2 separate regions of the Homo sapiens genome follow, and region 2 is linked to region 1. Evidence: promoter capture Hi-C in 16 types of primary human blood cells and fetal thymus (Javierre and others, 2016). All regions are on one chromosome and are shown on one strand. Each heading gives the region's core, a stretch centred on a gene start or on the middle of the fragment in contact. The rest is flanking DNA. Distances are from core to core; before and after follow the strand shown. Region 1 holds the start of RNASE6 (ribonuclease A family member 6). Region 2 holds the start of CBLN3 (cerebellin 3 precursor).

What was found. The method cuts DNA at HindIII sites, captures the fragments that hold promoters and counts their contacts. A CHiCAGO score of 5 or more calls a contact.
Region 2: a contact is called between the fragment with the promoter of CBLN3 here and the fragment with the promoter of RNASE6 in region 1, in 1 of 17 cell types (M0 macrophages). The highest score is 6.8, in M0 macrophages.

What each region holds. Positions count from the first base shown.
Region 1 is chr14:20,779,043-20,785,365 of GRCh38, forward strand. It overlaps RNASE6 (ribonuclease A family member 6), which reads left to right and starts at 2,226. Exons shown (of 2, transcript NM_005615.5): 1 at 2,226-2,296; 2 at 2,653-3,425. The coding sequence starts at 2,658. The coding sequence ends at 3,110. All of the region lies in intron 1 of LOC107984671 (a long non-coding RNA gene), which reads right to left. RefSeq lists an enhancer at 3,301-3,370. The HindIII fragment of the contact is 1,450 bases long and covers 1,923-3,372 here.
Region 2 is chr14:24,424,960-24,430,917 of GRCh38, forward strand. It overlaps CBLN3 (cerebellin 3 precursor), which reads right to left and starts at 4,709. Exons shown (of 3, transcript NM_001039771.3): 1 at 3,796-4,709; 2 at 3,327-3,446; 3 at 1,586-3,027. The coding sequence starts at 4,095. The coding sequence ends at 2,830. It overlaps KHNYN (KH and NYN domain containing), which reads left to right and starts at 4,995. Exons shown (of 8, transcript NM_015299.3): 1 at 4,995-5,160; 2 at 5,755-5,958. The coding sequence starts at 5,772. RefSeq lists a silencer at 4,832-5,371 and enhancers at 5,402-5,581, 5,726-5,958. The HindIII fragment of the contact is 4,979 bases long and covers 448-5,426 here.

The sequences.
Region 1 (6,323 bases), core at 976-3,475:
TCTATGAAAATGTATGAAGTCTAACCTATGAAAAGATTTATTTTTTGCATGTGTACATTCAGTTCTACTACCATTTGTTGAAAAGACTAACTTTTCTCAATTGAAAATTGATCCTTTGTCACAGATTAGTTCACTGTATTTGTGTGGGTCTACCTCTGGGCTTTCTACTTGGTTCCATTGACCTATTTGTCTATTTTTCACCAATAACACACTGTCTTAATTGCTGTAGCTTTATAGTAAGTTTTGAAGTTGGGTCACGTCAGTTTTCTGACTTTGTTCTTCTTTTTCTGCATTGTGTTGACTATTCTGAATCTTTTTTTTTTTTGAGACAGAGTCTCGCTCTGTCACCCAGGCTGGAGTGCAGTGGTGCGATCTCGGCTCACTGCAAGCTCCACCTCCCGGGTTCAAGCGATTCTCGTGCCTCAGCCTCCCAAGTAGCTGGTACTATAGGCGCCCGCCACCAGGCCTGGCTAATTTTTTGTATTTTTAGTAGAAACGGGGTTTCACTGTGTTAGCCAGGATGGTCTTGATCTCTTGACCTCGTGATCAGCCTGCCTCGGCCTCCCAAAGTGCTGGGATTACAGGCGTGAGCCACCGTGTCCAACCTGAATCTTTTACTTTTATATAAACTTCAGAGTCAGTTTGTCACTATCCACAAAATAATGTGCTGGGATATTGATTGAGATTGTGCTGAATCTATAGATCAAGTTGAGAGGAAATGACATCTTAACATATTGAGTATTCCTACTCATGTACATGGAATATCTGTGCTTCCTCAATTTCTTTCATTAGAGTTTTAAATTTTTCCTCATACCAATTTTTACATAATGTATTAGATTTACACCTAAGTATTTCACTTTCTTTGGTGCAATATAAATGGTATTGTGTTTTAAATATCAAATTGCAATTGTTCATTGCTGGTATATAAGAAAGCAACTGACTTTTGTATATTAACCTTGTATCCTGCAACCTTGCTATAAACAGACATTATGTTTATTCTGCAGACATTTGGAGCCATAAAAGCATGGGGCAAGAGTGTTGTACTATTATATCTTGTTCAAAAAAAGACTAATCTGGAAGTAATATGTAGAATGGATTGGAAGGAGAAAAAAACAAGGCAAGGAGTCCATGTGGGAGGCTTTTATGTGAGCCCTCCATAAGACAATGAGTTTCTGAATAAGGGTGTTGCAGTACCAGTGAAAAGGTAAGAACAGATTCAAGAGGCAAATATCCTAAATTCGGCCTTCTTCTTCAGGCTTACAGGTCTTTTCATACACAATTCTGTCTTTGGGAGGCGCTTAACACTCTCTTCACCTAACTTCTAATTATTCCTCAAAATTCAGTTCAGGTGTTGTGCCCTCCAACAATCCTTCCCCTCTACTATCTTCCCGTAGCCTCCTGCAGTGTCCTCCATCACACTGTAAGTGCTATTTATATTAATATAATCTACTTGTCTATATACTTACCTGCCTGTCTCTAATCTCTTTCATTAAATCATGAGCTCCTGGCAGATCACGAGGTCAGGAGATAGAGACCATCCTGGCTAACACAGTGAAACCCCGTCTCTACTAAAAATACAAAAAAATTAGCTGGGCGTGATGGCAGGCACCTGTAGTCCCAGCTACTCGGGAGGCTGAGGCAGGAGAATGGCATGAACCCAGGAGGTGGAGCTTGCAGTGAGCAAAGATCGCACCACTGCACTCCAGCCTGGGCGACAGAGCAAGACTCCGTCTCAAAAAAAAAAAAAAAAAAAACTCATGAGCTCCTGAATTTGTGTAGCCTAGTACCTGGCCCAATAAGTATATGCATAAATGAATAATGTATTCACTTCTGTTGTAGGAACTTACAACATTACCAAGTATGTGGCAGGCATTATATCATATTTATGTGACATATTTTCTCTTAAGAAACAGGAATCATAAAGCTTCAAAAAAAAACACTGAAGCCTCAGATGAGGCAGGAAGCACTCATTCCATATCAGGAAGTGATCAGTTCCTCAAAACTGTGAGTTTTCAGTCATGTTGTTTCTTTAAGTTGGTTTAGCCTTCCTGTATACATGTGATAATGATACTGTTTTAAAGAACAGGTGTGAAAGTCTAAGAGTTTAATCCAGACTCTGCACAAGAAGTTAATCTGCCAAACCCTAGGATTCTCCTTCTGAAAGCTCAGAATATTTCTTCCCCTTCCCTATACACACAGGGCTCGAAGGGTTAGAGAAGAAAGGCAGACAACAGCTTCTGAGCTTTGGACTAATCACAGCCTCTGTTCTCAGCAGGAGCCCCAACACTGAGACCAGGTAAGAAAGAAAGCCTCAGGGCTGGAGCGAGTAGAGCAGTAAAGACGGCTGGGAGGTAGTGGTCAGATAGAGGGTAAATATTTCAGGAGGGAAGAGGGAAGAAACTTTCTGATATGACAGCCATCAAATGCATGAGTACTTGTGAAAGAAAATGGGATATGCCAATCAAAGGAGAGGTCATATTTCTGTTTCCTGGGCTTCAGGTTCTTCATAGAATTGTGAGACTATGTGAGAAAGAAGATTTTAAAGGGAGCTGTAAAATCTTAAAAGGCAAAATAAAAATCTAAATAGTTATGATTAAAAATTTTGCTCTTATTGCTTCTCCTACTATAACTATCTTCTCTCTTTCTACACAGAAAAGATGGTGCTATGCTTTCCTCTTCTTTTACTGCTGCTGGTTCTATGGGGACCAGTGTGTCCACTTCATGCTTGGCCTAAGCGTCTCACCAAGGCTCACTGGTTTGAAATTCAGCATATACAGCCAAGTCCTCTCCAATGCAACAGGGCAATGAGTGGCATCAACAATTATACCCAGCACTGTAAGCATCAAAATACCTTTCTGCATGACTCTTTCCAGAATGTGGCTGCTGTCTGTGATTTGCTCAGCATTGTCTGCAAAAATCGTCGGCACAACTGCCACCAGAGCTCAAAGCCTGTCAACATGACTGACTGCAGACTCACTTCAGGAAAGTATCCCCAGTGCCGCTATAGTGCTGCTGCCCAGTACAAATTCTTCATTGTTGCCTGTGACCCCCCTCAGAAGAGCGATCCCCCCTACAAGTTGGTTCCTGTACACTTAGATAGTATTCTCTAAGGCATCCACTGCATTTCCTTTCATTTGACATAGCTTCTGTTACAATTGCATCCATGTTTTCTTTTCTTTTGTTGATTTTCTTGTTCCCGTAGAAGAAAGAAGAAAGGTGTTTGGAGAATTCGAGTGCCTAGGATGCCAGACCAGAGTTGAGACAAAAAGAAATAAGATTATTTTCTGCTTTGTAGTTCTGTACTTTTCGAGAGAAGGGAATAGGGAAGACAGCAAAGAAAGATTCAGATTTCTAACCCTGCAACTTTTGCCAAGCTTTATTGCCCTGTGTTCACAGCAATAAAACCACTTCCTGCTGCATTCTAATGAGTGTGTGTTTGAGATCCGCTTTCAAAGCATTGTTGACCGGTACTCAGAGGAACACTGTTTTGACTTTAAGTCCCTAGAAAACTTTTGAGGCCTCCCTGGGGCCCCACTTCCTTGCCCACAAGAAAGGACAGCGTTTGGGACTTTGGAGCATTTCTTCAAACTCTGCTCATGACTTTATATATTCCCCTGGAAACCATTGTCTATGCTTAATTGGAGGTAGTACTGATACCTCAAAGACAGTTGATGATAACTCACACATAGATTCTGTCACTGGCAACTGAAGGATCCTATGTCTTTTCTATTTGTTTCCGTTTTTAATCAGATAATGTTTTAAATATAAGGTGATAGTAGTAGTAATAGGGATAATAATCCATTGTAGTAACCTTAGGGTCAATCCTCCATTATTTATTGAAATGGATAAATAGAAAGCATAGATCAAGAAAAAAGCACTAGGCTTGTCGTGGTGGCTCACGCCTGTAATCCCAGCACTTTAGGAGGCTGAGGCAGGTGGATCGTCTGAGGTCAGGAGTTCAAGACCAGCCTGGCCAACATGGTGAAACGCTATCTCTACTAAAGATACAAAAAAAGTAGCTGGGCGTGGTGGCAGTGCCTGTAATCCCAGCTACTCGGGAGGCTGAGGCAGGAGAATCGCTTGAACCCAGGAGGTAGAAGTTGCAGTGAGCAAATATTGTGTCACTGCACTCCAGCCTGGGCAACAGAGTGAGACTCCCATCTCAAAAACAAAAAAAGAAAAAGAGAAAAGCACCAGGAGACCCAATGCAGTGGCTCACACCAGTAATCCCAGCACTTTGGGAGGCCGAGGCAGGCAGACGACTTGAGGCCAAGAGTTTGAGACCAGCCTGGCCAATGTGGTGAAACCCCATCTCTACTAAAAATACAAAAAATTAGCCAGACATGATGGCAGGAGCCTGTAATCCCAGCTAATCAGGAGCCTGAGGCAAGAGAATCGCTTGAACCTGGGAGGCAGAGGCTGTAGTGAGCCGAGATTGCACCACTGCACTCCAGCCTGGGTGACAGAGCGAAACTCCCGTCTCAAAAAAAAAAAAAAAAAAAGGAAAGAAAGAAAGAGAAAAAAGCACTAGGAAACTAAAAACATTCTAGTCCTATGTAAATACTGAAATACCACAGAAGTATTGGGGTTTTGGAACAGAACCTGAACTAAGCCATTTCACAGAAGGAACTTCAGTTTCCTTGTCAACCTCTAGAGTCATTGGGCTAGTGGGCCAGTGTAAATCCCAAGTGCTTTGTACAGTGATGAGTCTTCAAGTAGCAGCCAAAGACAATGAAGTTTTTTTGAAAAGGCTACATATTGTAGTGTCTTCATTACCTGTGCTGCAAATGATTCTTTCCAAGCCAGACTATTAGTTTAATAGATATGCTAACTCAGCTCACCTTCCTTTACGCTACACATTTATGTCATATCTTAGGAACAAAGAATGGAATATGAGGTTTCAGGAGCCTGGATTCCAGGGTGATGACTGATCAAGGGCCCTCCCATTGGGAAGAGATTAGCAGGTCAGGGCAATATGGCACCTAAGAAGGTGGGTACCTTATAGAGGGAATCCTACAGTGGGACTTGAGTGCTCTAACTCAAAGCAGCTTTCAGTTGTATTCAGCTTTAAGCCATGTTGCATTTACATTTTATTGTCTCAGAGTCTTCATGTAAAGTGTGGTGGAATGGCAGGGAGAATCTGTGCTCACGTTTGGTATGAACAAGTATACGAAAGTAGCAGCATCTGAAAGGAAAGGGGTTGAATGGATTTATATGAACATTACCTGGAAATTGCCAGAGATTCTTAAAGGTAATCTAGTAAAACCAAACAACTCAATTGCTCATGCTATTGTTATTTATATAGTAAAGGTATCTCATGGATTGAATACATCTGTGCTGCAAAAATTTTTCAACTGTCAGAAACATTAGGGAACATGAAATGTTACTTAAAATTAGTGAAATAAATTGTGAGGTCTAAAATACTGCAAATATTTTGTAACAAATGGTTAAAAACAAAAATATAATGAGTGCCATCTTTTGAAGAGATTTGCAGCAACAATATCTAATCTTCCCCACCCTCCCATGACAAACCTATCCCCAACAACAATTAGAGTCACTTTTTGTTGCTGATCAAGGAAAAGGCAACAATGAGGGTAACTTTTCAACAATCTATTATGCCCAAACTTTTAGAAGGTATTAGTTCTAAACAAGTGGAATAGACTGGGATGGAATCTCTCATAGATTTATTTTCTTTTCTACATGCAGTTATGTATTGCAGAAGTTCAATACATAATTGCTAAGAAGTTCACTTAGATATATCCCTAGAATATACAGAATGATCCCAAAGCAGGCAAAGCTTAGAAGTGAATTCAGCAGATGTTCTAGCAGCTCTCAACTCTGGCTTCATATTAGATTCACCTGGGAGCTTTTAGAAAAATACCAATGACGGGATCTACTAAATAAATTTTATGAACATTTAATGAACAATTAAATGAATATCTGGGGGTGAGACCTGGGCTCTAATGGATGTTTGTTAAAGATCCCCATGTAATTGTAATGGGCAGCAAATATTGGTAACAACTGTTGATGCAGGGGTAAGCAAACTACATCTGCAGACCTCTGGCCTGCCGCGCCTATTTTATACTGCCTGGAGTAGTGTGGTTTTTACTTTTATTTTTTTTTTTGAGATGGAGTTTGGCTCTGCCGCCCAGGCTGGAGTGCAATGGCTGGATCTCGGCTCACTGCAACCTCCACCTCCTGGATTCAAGCGATTCTCCTGCCTCAGCCGCCTGAGTAGCTGGGATTACCCGCCACCACGCCCAGCTAATTTGTTTGTTTGTTTGTTTGTTTGTTTGTTTGTTTTTTGAGACGGAGTCTCATTC
Region 2 (5,958 bases), core at 3,459-5,958, 3.6 Mb after region 1:
CTCACACCTGTAATCAGATCACGTGAGGCCAGGAGTTTGATACCAGCCTGGACAACATGGCGAAACCCCATCTTTACTAAAAATACAAAAAATTAGCTGGGTGTGGTGGCTCGCACCTGTAATCCCAGCTACTCGGGAGGCTGAGGCATGAGCATTGCTTGAACCCAGGAGGTGGAGGTTGCAGTGAGCTGAAATTGCACCACTGCACTCCGGCCTGGTCGACAGAGCATGACTCTGCCTCAAAAAACAACAATAAAAAACAACTTCTAGTTGTCTTCCCCAATAGCTAATTTCCCCTTCTTCCTTGTTATAAAACTCCCAACTTCTGGCTGGACATGGCTGCCTGGAATAAACACTGTAGCTCCTAGCCAAGCTCCCTGGCTTGGTGAGCCCGGGTGACTAAATTCTACTGAGACACAATCAGAAATATTGGTGCATATTTCAGAAAGCTTCTTTCAAGGAAAGAGATGTGTTGTTTCTTCCTTCCTCCTTCCTGTTAGGCTGATGTAATGTCTGGAGCTCAGGGAGCCGTCTTGGGTCATGAGGTGGCAAGCTAAGGATGGTAGAACAAGACAGAAGACTGGGCTTTCAAATGATCATAAGGCTGCCATCCATCCCTGGACTCTTATTTACAGATTTTTCTATGTGAGACAAAAATGATTTCCTATTTTGTTTAAGCTATTCTTATTTTGGGTTTTACTGTTACAGCCAAACCTACTCTTAATCATTTTGCCTAATTAATATCTCATTATAATTAGTGGGGTAATACAGAGGATCCATTTTCTAGGAGATGAACGATCAAGCCTGAGCAGTGAACAGTTGTCTTTTGGACATCTGACTAATCCATTGTCTTATAACACGCCATTGGACTGTTTTTCTTCTTAGTTGCAAAATATACTCAAATAGTTCCACCAGTATCTTTCATTCTTGGCACAGTGCCAGATCTTCTTGGAATTATTCACAGTTCTCTGTACTCACCCCTCCCTACTTACATAGATAAAGAAAAACAAATGTACCTTGCAAATAGACAAAATGCCTACTATATTTATGTTCTTGTACTTATCACGACTCACTAAAAATAGCCTATATTCACTCTTCTTCACTCAGCATATTAACTACTTTTTGTCACACTTTATAGTGACTTCTTCCTTTTTGAATATCATTGCAGGTACATGGATTTAAAAAATTCACCTTGTTCCAATTAACTGTATTATTTTCCTTTTGATAATCAAATTGTCAAAGCATGTCAAGTGGGAGCTTCTTTAAATTGATTCCTTTGCCTTTTCAGCTTTACTTTATACATTTAAAAAGTATCTTTGCTTTCTGTCATCAACAACATGTTCTGGGCCTGGAGTTACTTAAGGTGTGCAGCTATTCTCCAAGGAACCTGAGGGTTTTTGGTATTTTTTTTTAATGGTGACTAATATCTGAAGCAAAGATCCAGTTTCTAAGAATGGATATCAGATTGTTCCTGATGTTGTTTTTAGGATTAGTGACAGTTCAAAAAGTTATTTCTTTTCAAAACCACAAATTCACCTTGGTATTTCCTATTTAACTCAAACATTATTCAACTTTTAAAATGTAATTTTAGTATACAGTTTGATATTTATTTTCCTCTGCAACATACCTACTTGTACCTGTAACACCCGATCCAAACTCCAGAGGCATCTTCTCCTTAGTAATTCTATAGTGTCTCACTGACCACCATTCTCTAGTTGTTTTATTGATAGATTCATCCAGGCTGGGCCAATGGGACAGCGGGATAAGAAAGAGAGAGGGAGGGTTTAGCATACTGGCAGGAGAGGGTCTGAAGGAATGAATCATGGAATCCCAGGTAATAGGAAGCCTAAGGAGGAGAATAAGACAGCACAGATCAGGAGAAAGAGAGATAGTGGGGATATGCTGGAACAGGTACAGTGAAGATAACTCAGTGAGAGAGCTGGGAGGAAGGAGGCAGCAGTCAGAGTGTGGAGGGACTAAAGTTCAAACTTCAAAGGTGGAGCAGTTTCAGGAGGTGGCCAAGCAAGAGGATGCATGGTTATCGATGTTTTCCATGGTCCACTTCCAGCTCTGTATACCTGCTCTCAGCTCTGCTCTCAGCCAGAGCAAACACACTCACCCTAATCTCAGGTGGGGAGGTAAGGGCCAGAGTCCATCTGGGATCCAGCATAGAAGGACAGCCAGGATTGCTACCTGCTGGCTGCTCTGCTATACATGCAGAATGTGTACCATGTTCAGTCTAGACAATACACCCTCCTTCCTTCCTCACCAGCCACAGACTCCAGGCCCTTCCCACCCTTCTGCCTGTGGCTGAGCCTCCCACCCTAGCCCATACGGTGCTGGTTCAGCTTCTGACGGTGCTGGCTGAGATCCGTGATGCTGGCTTTCCTCACAGGAAGAAGCCTGCAGGGTACGCTGAGGCTTGTCCATCTGGGCTCCTGTGGGGGCCTGTCAGGCTCACCTGCGCCACCTGTCCCTGATCAGCATTGAGCAGGAAGCTGGGGTGGGGGAACCGGAGGAGCAGAGGCCGCAAAGTAGTGCAGATCTTCCTTCTTGCCAAACCTTGCCCTGATCCTAGGGCTGCAGGCAGGAACAGATGCAGCAGGTGGCTGGGAGGGTAACTGGGGGTGGGTGGGTGGAAAGGCCTGGTCTGGAGATGCCACAGCTCTACTCTTCTCTTAAACTTGGGTGTTTGGCACAGGGTCCCATGCAAAGAGGTGGGATAGGAGCCAGAGGGAGTCTCTCTCCTGCCTCTGCTGTTTCTGGGGCAAGAGAGGGCAGAAGAAAGTTGTCAGGGGCTGGATTCTTGTGCTTGAAAGACTTGGGTCCTCAGAGAGGGAAGATGAGGAAGCCAGAGAAACTTGAGTATTTCCAACCACCCAGTAGATTCCCCCGACGCAGGCGCAGAGACACTCGGTCCCCAGGGTCCAAGGGCAGTAGCACAGAGCTGGTGGCTGCCTCCCGGGTCACGTCAGGATCATTGGCAAAGGCTGAGATGACAGGCCACGTGTTCAGCATCAGGCTCACCTGGGGAGGGGAGCCCAGTTAGCCCCCATTCCCCAGCCCTTAGCTCAGGACCCCCCACTTTCCCAGGAGCTTCCTCTTGGGAAGCTGGGTTTTAATGGGCTCTCCCGGGAGGGCTGAGGGGCGGCCAGCATTGGACTCTGCACATCCTCCACACTCAATGCAAGGCAGGCCCATTCCTCCCCTGGTCCTGGCCTCCAGGACACAGGTCAATGGAGAGTCCACCCGGAGGTCAGCTGGGCTCCCCTTCTTCCCCCTCCCCACCCTCCTGAGCCGGGGATGGGGGCCAGTGCTGAGGTCACCTGGACAGTTTGGCGGTTGTACACCTTCACCACATGGAACCGGAAGCTGTAGACACCCCGGACAGGGGCTACGAAGGAGCCAGAGGCCCGGTCAAAGCCACCGCCCTCGTTCACCAGGACCTGGGGGAAGCAGAGCCTGCTGAGTGGGGCTCAGGAAATGCCCATGGCTCAGGGGTACCATGGGGACTAGGGGCAGGGGCAGTGAGTAATGAATAGAAGGAGTGGCAAGTAGGAGTGAATAGGAGTGAACAGATTCAAAAGAAATGGTGAGAAGGGGCAAGGAGAGGGCTGCGTATGGGTGGAGGGAGGGGAAACCGTCGGTGGGGTGGTGGGGCAATAGGCCAGATTAGTGAAAGATGTAGGAAGCTGTTTTCTTAAAGCCTCAGAGACAGCAAAGTGGGCTTGGACAGTTGCTTCCAGGTCCTTGCAGGGTCTTTCCAGGTCCCCTGGACAGGGGTAGGGGGATTACCTGGTCGAAGTAGATGGCCCCACTGGTGCCATTGCCGGTTTCCCCTGCTGGCTCATGGTGGTGGCTTCGGACCGCAGCAAATGCCACTCGCCCAGGGGGTGCCTCTCCCAGGGCTGCTCCCCCGGGCCCCCCTGCAGCAGCTCGGCCAGGCTCACAGACCACCAGGCACTCCCCCTCCAGCAGGACGGGCTCTGACCCCTCCTGGGCCCACCCGGCCCCCAGGGCCAGAAGCACCAGAACCAAGGGCAGCCCGGGACTGTGTAGGGGACCTGGTAGCCAGTGTGGCTTGGCTCCCAACATGGCTGAGGGGCTCTGCAACCCACAAGTGCCCCGGTCTTCTGCCCCTCTTCTGTTTCCGCTCCTCTCCCTGGATTCTCACCGCCGGCACCCTGATCGTCTGCCCTCTCTAGGCTCGCTGAACCCCCTCTCCATACCTGTGTCCCAGCTCTGTCCTGCCTCCCACTCTTACTCCTGCTGTCACTGCAGTTCCCTCCTCCTTGGCAGAGCATGCAGTGACAGCAGTTGGGCTTTGGGAGAGAAAGGAGGGATGAAGCCGCCTGCCCACTGGACGGGAGGGCTGCAGCCAGAGCTTCAGGGCAGCCCTGCTGGATGGGACAGCACTGAGGGCTGGACCTGGGGGGATGGAGAACATGGTATGTGTGTGTGACGGGTGTGACAGAATGTGTGAGTGTGTGCATATGCCAGAGGCAGCCCCTCAACCCCTTCCTCCTACTCTTCCTCTCTTCAAAATCCCCCACAAATCAACAGCCCTTCTTCGTGGCATCTTTCCGTTTGTTGGAAGAAAGGGGTACTCCACCACGGGTACCCTCCGCCTCCCGCCTCCCGCCTACCCCCTCCGCCACGATTGCTTTGGTGGAAAGTGCTTGGGCCTAGAGCACCAGTGGGCCAGTCACGCTGCCTCTTTGGTCGGCCACATCTTTATTCGCGGGAAACAACTTTCAACGCATGGTTCCCCTTTCCGAGAAGTAACTGCGCAGAATGCGCGAGGACCCTGAGGGCCGGGAGACAGACGGGAGGGCTGGTGAGAAGCGCAAGGGGCGAGCCCTGGAGCCGCCGAGGGGACTAGGCCGAGCGGGCCCGTCGGGGCCTCTGGGCGCGGCGGCGGGGTTGGGAGGAGGGCGCGCAGCCGGGAGGAGCTGGGCTGACTCCGCCCCAGGCCAGGAAGTGACTCAAGAAACAGTTTGCGTGCGATGTGGACAAGAGAGGTCCCCGCTGGGTGAGGAACCCGGGAAGGCCCGCCCAGATTCGGGCCCCCTGCCCTTGTCCCCTGGGCTGGGGGCGCGGGCAAAGCGGGGGCCTGGCGGGCGCTGAGAGGACCTGAAGCCGGCGCGGGCGGCGGAGGCGGTAGGCGCGCCCCTCCACCGCGCCCGGGAGCGGGGAGCGGGGGCCGCGGTGCGGAGTAGGCCCGGCCCGGGGTGGCTGCCCCAGTCCGCGGTGGGCGGGCCCGGCCCGGCCCGGCCCCTGGGCCCTGGGCGGTGCTCCTGGCCCGACGGAGAGGGGCAGCGGACGGCTGGGGGAGGGGTGGGAGTGGCTTGAACCTTGGAAATGGCAGACCAGGGCCCCCAGAGGACAGCCTAGTTCAATCCCCTGCTGAGGATTCGTCCTTAAGAAGCTTCAGAGTGCCCCAGGAGACTCCTTCTGGCCTCCAGGCCGAGCTGGAGCCCCCCCACCCTTCTTGCTCCGGACTGTGGTCATCCTTTTCCAAAGCCCAGACGCCCACTCTCGATAGACAGCCTTGTTTACCGGGACTTCCTCTCCGGAGAGGCCTGCGTGACATACACCCTCCCTACCTCCAGTGGACTCAGATGCTTGTCACCTCCTGGGGCTGTTTACCAGAGCCTTAACTAGGTGCGACCTGTTGATAGCTGGTGTAGTCCCAGGAACCAGGATTTGGATGGAGGGTACAATGAGGCTCTGAGCTGCCTTCTCCCCTTCCAGGGCTGGGGGCAGCAGCCATGCCTACCTGGGGGGCCCGCCCCGCGTCCCCAGATCGCTTTGCGGTGTCTGCGGAGGCTGAGAACAAGGTTCGGGAACAGCAGCCCCATGTGGAGCGCATCTTCAGCGTGGGGGTGAGCGTCCTTCCGAAGGACTGTCCGGACAACCCCCACATCTGGCTGCAGCTGGAGGGCCCCAAGGAAAACG